2 separate regions of the Homo sapiens genome follow, and region 2 is linked to region 1. The links are contacts of gene promoters, found by promoter capture Hi-C in human tissues and cell types (Jung and others, 2019). All regions are on one chromosome and are shown on one strand. The core of a region is centred on a gene start or on the middle of the fragment in contact, and the rest is flanking DNA. Distances in the headings are between cores, read along the strand shown.

Evidence for each region. Contacts are between HindIII fragments. The study calls those that stand out against the background at their distance.
Region 2: a fragment that was not itself captured here is called in contact with the fragment with the promoter of PHOX2B in region 1 in 1 of the 25 tissues and cell types used here (mesendoderm cells).

What each region holds. Positions count from the first base shown.
Region 1 is chr4:41,747,158-41,750,567 of GRCh38, forward strand. PHOX2B (paired like homeobox 2B) reads right to left here and starts at 1,568. Exons shown (of 3, transcript NM_003924.4): 1 at 1,213-1,568; 2 at 192-379. The coding sequence starts at 1,453. PHOX2B-AS1 (PHOX2B antisense RNA 1) reads left to right here and starts at 1,192. Exons shown (of 4, transcript NR_187403.1): 1 at 1,192-1,429. The HindIII fragment of the contact is 4,691 bases long and covers 1-2,645 here.
Region 2 is chr4:41,877,139-41,880,548 of GRCh38, forward strand. LINC00682 (long intergenic non-protein coding RNA 682) reads right to left here. Exons shown (of 2, transcript NR_104143.1): 2 at 2,383-3,410. Among named protein-coding and RNA genes, the nearest start is that of LINC00682, 3.8 kb to the right of the region's middle. RefSeq lists an enhancer at 2,671-3,410. The HindIII fragment of the contact is 7,009 bases long and covers 1-3,410 here.

The DNA.
Region 1 (3,410 bases), core at 318-2,817:
ATGCCAAGAGCGTGCGCTCTAAGCCTCTCTCGAACGCACAGCCACACCAAATCCAGTATTTCTGATCGGCCATGGGGCCCTAGGTCCTTCTCACTCGAGGCTCCAGGACTTCGAATTTCACCAGCCGCCCCTCACCCCACACCTCCCCGGACCAGTGCGGCGGAGCGGGGTCGGTTTCCAGGCGCGCGTACCTGGACTCGCGCCTCTGTGAGGTCGATCTTCAGGGCCAGCTCCTCCCGAGTGTAGATGTCGGGGTAGTGAGTCTCCGCGAAGACCCTTTCCAGCTCTTTGAGCTGGGCACTGGTGAAAGTGGTGCGGATGCGCCGCTGCTTGCGCTTCTCGTTGAGGCCGCCGTGGTCCGTGAAGAGTTTGTAAGGAACTAGAGTATGACAGAGGAGACAGAAAGTGAGCAAATCAGCCGGCAGCTCGCCGGCCGTGGAGCTAGAATGTGAGGACTCCAAGGTCAGGTCATACGGCAGCCGCTACCTACACCCGCGCGAGAGAGTTGCCGAGAGAAGCTGCGGGAAGAAACCGAGGAAATTTGTTATCTGCGGAAACCTGGGCTCAAACTTCGGGCTTGGCGGAGTCCTTTCTGGCACAAGCGCCTTTGGGTGGATTGAAACAGCGCGATGTGACGGACTTGAGATAGTGCTTTCAGCAGGAAAAAACCAGAGAGGAAAAAAATCCAAAAACATCAGTCGGAATATCAGGGAGCCAGGAAAGAAGTTACCAAACAGTCCCACTTTGGGAACTTTTCAATTCTCAGAAAGTTGACCCGGCTCAAAAGTTGGGGGAAAGAGCTGCAAAAAAATAATAATAAATTAAAGAAATAATCATAAAAATGACCAGCCAAAGAGGTGTGAGCCGCTGTCGGTTCTTAAAAAAAGAGACACTGCCAGTAATGAGCTTTACTCTTTGTTATTTAATTATTTTCTAAGCTTTACGTCTCATCGCAAAGTAAATAAATTATGCCTATCATTTTGGCAGCTTAAGATAATTTTGTTGGCGGTTCGGGTGTGACTAGGATAGTGTAACCCTGTAAGTGAATTACCCCTCCCTGCAATCGCTTCTAACGTGATAAATTCTTTCATTTGTGTAAGCAAATTTCGTTTGGTAAATACTAAACACATTTCCATTTTCAAATGCAATCAAGGCTTCCTATATACGGGCGGAAAGGCGGCTTCCTCCGCTGAGAAAGCTGAAGGTCCTTACCTGCGGCGTACGGACTGCTCTGGTGGTCCCTGAGGGTGCCCAGGCTGCAGGATCCCGGCGTGAGGGAAGGGCAGCCGGACGTGGCCCCAAAAGTGGTCCTTATCGGGTTATACTGGAAGCCACTGGCCTGGCTGCAGGAACTGAAGTCAGCATAGGCTGAAGCCAGGCTCGAGGTGTCCATCCCAGCCATACAGGACTCGTAGGCAGAGGAATTGAGGTAAGAATATTCCATTTTATACATTGAAAAGGTTCTGGATGGCTCAGCCAAGTGGAAAAATGAAATAAAAGATGGATATGGAGAAGGTGGCTGGAGTGGGGAGATGTGCACAGCTCAACGCCTGCCTCCAAACTGGCCTCCTTACTACCAGCAGAGCCTAGTTTTATGAAAAAGCCTCCTATGAGATGCCTTGTCTGAGGTCTCTAGAGCATATAGTCCTCATAATAAACTTGGCTCTTTCCACTTGGACAATAGCAAAGCGGTTGGTCTTATTGCTGGCGCTTTTTACATGACAATAACTCATCCGTCTATTGGGCTGGCACTGGGGAACTGAGCTGTCCAACCTCCCTATCATTGATTCCTGCATCTCTAATTAGAATTTAATACCACACCATTACGCACCGAGCCCCTGATCCTCCCTTCTAACCAGCTCCCTGCCCTTTAATTCAATCACACTACTTGGAAATAATGAAAGTTGGGTGACGATTCTCCCTGATCCAATTTCCCCGAGCTTTTAAGCCTTTTTAACTGATCATATACCTTAGGCATAAATTGAGATAGTGTGTGTGTTTTCCCCCTTCTTCGTCCTCTTCTTTTTTTCCCCCTCGGTTAGGGAGAAGAAACCTTGATGTCATAGAAAACCTGTTTTGTAAGAGTGTTACACGCTCAATTTAACAACAAGCCTACCCCCCGAAGTGCATGAAATGTTATAAAGGACTGGGACATTGGCAAGACTCAGGCGCCCTGTAACATAGAGTAAGTGGGCCAAGGGGGTTTATGTGAACGATAAGCGGATTTCTTTAAAAATACACCTGGTAGAGGGGGTTAAAAAAAAGAGAGACAGAGAGAAAGCATCTTATAAATTGCATTTCTTCTTGCAGCTAAATGTGCTTTCAAGAGACTCAGGGTATACAGCCACTTAAAAATAATAATAAAAAAATCTGAGGAAAGCTTTCGAATGTGAAACATCTGGATTCTCGACCGTTGTGTTCTTTGCTCTCAGTTCTGTCTGTTTGCATTAGCGCAAGCCTTGGTTGGTTTGAGTTTCTGTGAGGTTGTTCGTTTTAATTACACCATAACTGGCAAGCGAGCATGAAGTGTACCCAAATGTATCTCCTCTTTCATCTCTTTCGGGCGCTCTCCCTCTTTCTCGCCTCTTTTTTTTTTTCAGGTGCCCACAATCCTCCACAGACCCGGGGATTGTGTCTGTTTGCCTTTTAGGTTTGCGGACTGTAGTGAGGGAAATTCTTGCCATGTAAATGCCCAGGCAAGGGCTCCAGGTCGGGCACCTTTCTTGTCCGATTCCTCAGGCTTTTGGGTGCTGGCAGCGAGGCACAGACAAAGGAGCGAGCAGTGATTTGTGGACTTCAGTGGCCCCATGATTTAAGCGGAGGGTAATTTTCATTTGGTTTGTTAGGCCCTAGCAGAATAAGGGAAACTATTTCATTAAATCCTTCCTCTCGGTGGACAAGAGGGGGAAAGCTTAGCTGAATCGCCGTGTGGTGTAAACAAACCCTGGATATTTTATATGAATTAAATGTGTAGATAATTAGTTTTATTGCATTCATTACCCCCTTTATGTGCTCTGTAACAAGTCAGTAATTAAAGTAACAAACTCATAAAGTCTTTATAGGGGCATTTAGGCGTTCAGTGTTTGCCAAACTAAGTGGTTTAATTCGATGCTAGTGCCGGGGAGTGGATGGGCTCCCGCTCTCCCCTGCCACCGTGTTTTATTGCGCACTAAACTGCCGCGGACGCAGTAATGGATTAAACGGGGACAGCGGTCCCCCAGCCTTGTGCTTCTTTGCAGGGTGAGTTTCAGGCTCGTTTCAGGTGGTTGCAAATCCTCGGGGCGTGAGGAAGCGCTAAAGTCGGGAGTGCAGGGAGCCGGACCTACCGAGGATCCTGGTGATAGTTTTATGGGGAGGGCTGATAGTTTTATTGCAGTTGTATGTTGTACAATGCGTATTTGATAAAGAAG
Region 2 (3,410 bases), core at 580-3,079, 130 kb after region 1:
TGCTGCTTCCCTCACCCATGAACAAGGAAAGCCCAGGCCACAGGGCCTGTGTTCAACAGAGCTTACTCTGGCCAGGCCCAGCCTCAGCTCCTCCCATATTCCTCTGCGGATGGAGACATCAGGGACAGTTAGGGTCCTAAACCTATCAGGGGTAGATAAGACTCTGTACCATCACACTTGGGAGTCACTCTGGCCATCTGACCTCTAAGAGCCCTTCCATCTCTAAATTCTGAGATACTGTCCTGATCTTCTGACTTGTAGCCACCTGGGACTAAGTAGGCAGGAAATGGCAGGTAGGAAGGCTGCTGCAGGCAATGCTACCCACCCCCCACCTAGAGGACGCCTTGGAGAGCAAAGCTGGCTCTGGCATCCCCAGGCCCATGCCAGCTGGAGTGACCAGACCAGGCAATTTCCACAGAATTCTCTGAATCATTCCCATCCTCTTTCCACCATCAGCTCCCTCCTGTCTTGGCACCTGGTGACCGCAGTGCATGGCGCCAGCTTGGCACTTCCAGGGCTGGCCCCTTCCTAACCCTGCCAGATCAGGTCAGCGAGAGAGCACACGTGGGGCACCTGGCTGCTTCTGCCAACTGGCCTTGTCGCCTAGCTGCACCCTTAGACAGCCAGGACCAAGCAGGGCATCAGCACTCCTGAGAACTGCTGTCCTCTTCACCCTTTTGGCCCCCACTCCCACCCCAGCTACCAGGGGAGAGGATTTTGGAGACCTGACCACTTCCTGGAGCACCAAGTGTCTGTAGGCCACCTTGCAAAACTCAGGACACCCGGAACAGCACACTTGTGCCCGCAGCATAAACAGGGAGAAACCTGTCTTCGCAGGAGGGAACTGTCCTCCATGATTTGGAAGGGCAATGTGAATTCCAACATATACCAGAGACCGAACTAGAGGTGAATAAGCCGAGGCTAGAATATGCAGTTTTAAAAGTTTTTTTTCTATAGAAAAATGTAAGTTAGCTAAATGCAACAAAAGATTTTCCGCGGGTTCAGGAGGTCAAGCAGATGTAGACAAGCTCAGGGGAGTTATTTATGTCAAGTTGGGTTATTGTAAAGGCGAGAGAGAGAATCGCCCAGGCGGCTTAGGCAGCCAGTGGGCCAGTGGGCCTGCGCGCCGGGGTCAGGATGGCAGGGCAGTGTGTCCATCCTGGCGGGACAGTAATTGCCCCGGGTCTGACACGACGCCGGGGGCTCAGGGCGCCTCCATCCATCTCCATCCAGTTAGCGACGCGCCCCCCGACCGGGCGGGTGGCCGGGCTTGGGCCTCAGCTCCGAATAATGAGAACAATTGTCTCCCCGCCTGGCATAGCCCTCCGCCGCTCCTCCGGGTTCGCTGCCCCTCTCATTTCTCTAGCCCTGCTTGTTTCCCAACCTTGGCGATGGGGATCGGGTGGGAGGTCAGCTCCAGATCCAGTGGCCCTGAGCTCAGAGAGCAGCGAAGTCAGGGTGCCCCGGGAGGAGATCAAAGCCTCGGCCCCCACTGCCCTCCGCTCTGCCTCTGCCAGCGACTAACTTACCTCTTTTTCCACCTGCCCAGCGAATCCAGCTGCCCGGCCTTCCCCTCCCATCCAAGAACCCCCGGCTCCTGCCTCTAGAATTTTCCACCAGCGCTGGGGGCTGGTAAAGATTCTGCCCCCCTCTGACAATTTAATAGTCCCAAGTCATCATCTGCGTGACACTGGCCATCCATCTTCTCCCAGGGGAGGACAAAGCGGGGCCTCCCGGACTCCAGGCCTCTCCCTCCCCAGCTCTTTCTATTTTGGGACAGCCTCACCACAATGGCGTCCTTATAAACCATAATGGCGATGTTTATGAAGGCCGCAATACCAGTGTATGAAGACAATTTTATGCCTAATTAGAAAATGATGTAACTCGAGAGAAGACAAAGGAAAGCTGTCCCCCTCCCGTTTCTCTCTCTTCAATCACACCCCCTCCCCACATTTCCTAGGGCCGGACCCCTTGTGAGTGCTTAAGGCTGAAGGACTCTGTTTTGACAGTAGCTGGGCTCCCCGCGCCCCGCTGGCCCTGGCCGCGCGACAGGAGGCTGCAGGCACGTCCTGCGGCTCCGGGGCGAAGGCTAGGGAAGGGGATAGAGGGAGGTCGCTGCGGGGAGGGGGACAGAGGCAGGCACAGAGTCCTAAAGAGATTTGAGACTCGCGCTCCTGCACTTTCTATCCCACGCGCCCCCATCCGAGGGGACCTCACCCCTGGGAAGACTCCAATAAATGCAACCCGGCGCCACTCGATTCCGGGATAATTTTTAATATATATGCAATAAATGTTCACTTTGTTAGATTGAATGACAGACAATAATATCGGCAAATCTTCATATCCATCCATTACCAGCAAATGAGCCGCACAAAGGACAGATTTGCTTTTGATTAATTTATTTGCAGACTCGGGTTGATAAAGCAATAACTATTTGGTTAAACTTGACATTTGGTCTTCAGGGGGTTATCAGACAAATCTCTGTCGCCCAGAAGAGATAATAAAGCTGTTTAAAGGGGATTAATTATTAATTGGCTGCAATTAATTTCCCCCCTTTTCTCGGCTGCTGCCACAATTCGCATCCCTCACCCACAAACAAAAGACAGAAGTTTGCCCTCCTCCCCACCCACTGACCTGGGGCGACGAGGGGATCCCCAAAGCCCTGAGTGAAGACGTGATCTCTTGCACCCCGGTTATTCCAGTGCAGACTATTTTAATGAACCCTTGGCAAAACCTGTCCATGTCTGTCCCCGGCAGCTTTTCTGGAGTCGAGGGTGCGATTAAGCATCAATCTGAGGGTCGTGGATTCGGAGCTGAATTTCTAGTCTCAATATTTTTGGTTGTAAGGACATCAGCTCACACCCGTTGTTATGTCTAAATCCACACTCCCCAACTTGTTTTCTTGGGGCAGCAGTTTGGGGGCTGAGCTGGAACCTGGGTGTGAGAGTATCACAAGCCCGCCCTACTGATCACGCGGAGAGGATTCCTTCTTCCCCTCTTTACTCCGCGCCCTGCCGCGGAAACCCTTCCCGTGGCCTCGAACTGGTCCCCGACGACTGCGGGGTACGCGGGGCCCAAAGCCAGACTCTACTCCCGCGCAGATGCGGGAAGACTCCAGGCTGTGCTTGAGCTGTTTTACTGGGCCTGGCCGAGGAATAAGCGAGCCTCAGCATGCTTGGGCCAGAGCGAGAAGCATCTTCATGACCCTGGGGTGCCCCTTCCTTTACTAATAACCTGTCAAGACTTTAAAGAACACATACTGAGACTAAAGCCCACCAAGCCTGCCTGGCCACAGCGCAGGCTGCCTCGGCCTCTCCGACATCCACCCGCTTCCAGGGACCTGTACGCTTTCCTTGGGTGCGAACTCGAGTCCAGGACCGGCAGGGTTCTCGCCTTAATCTGTACCACCG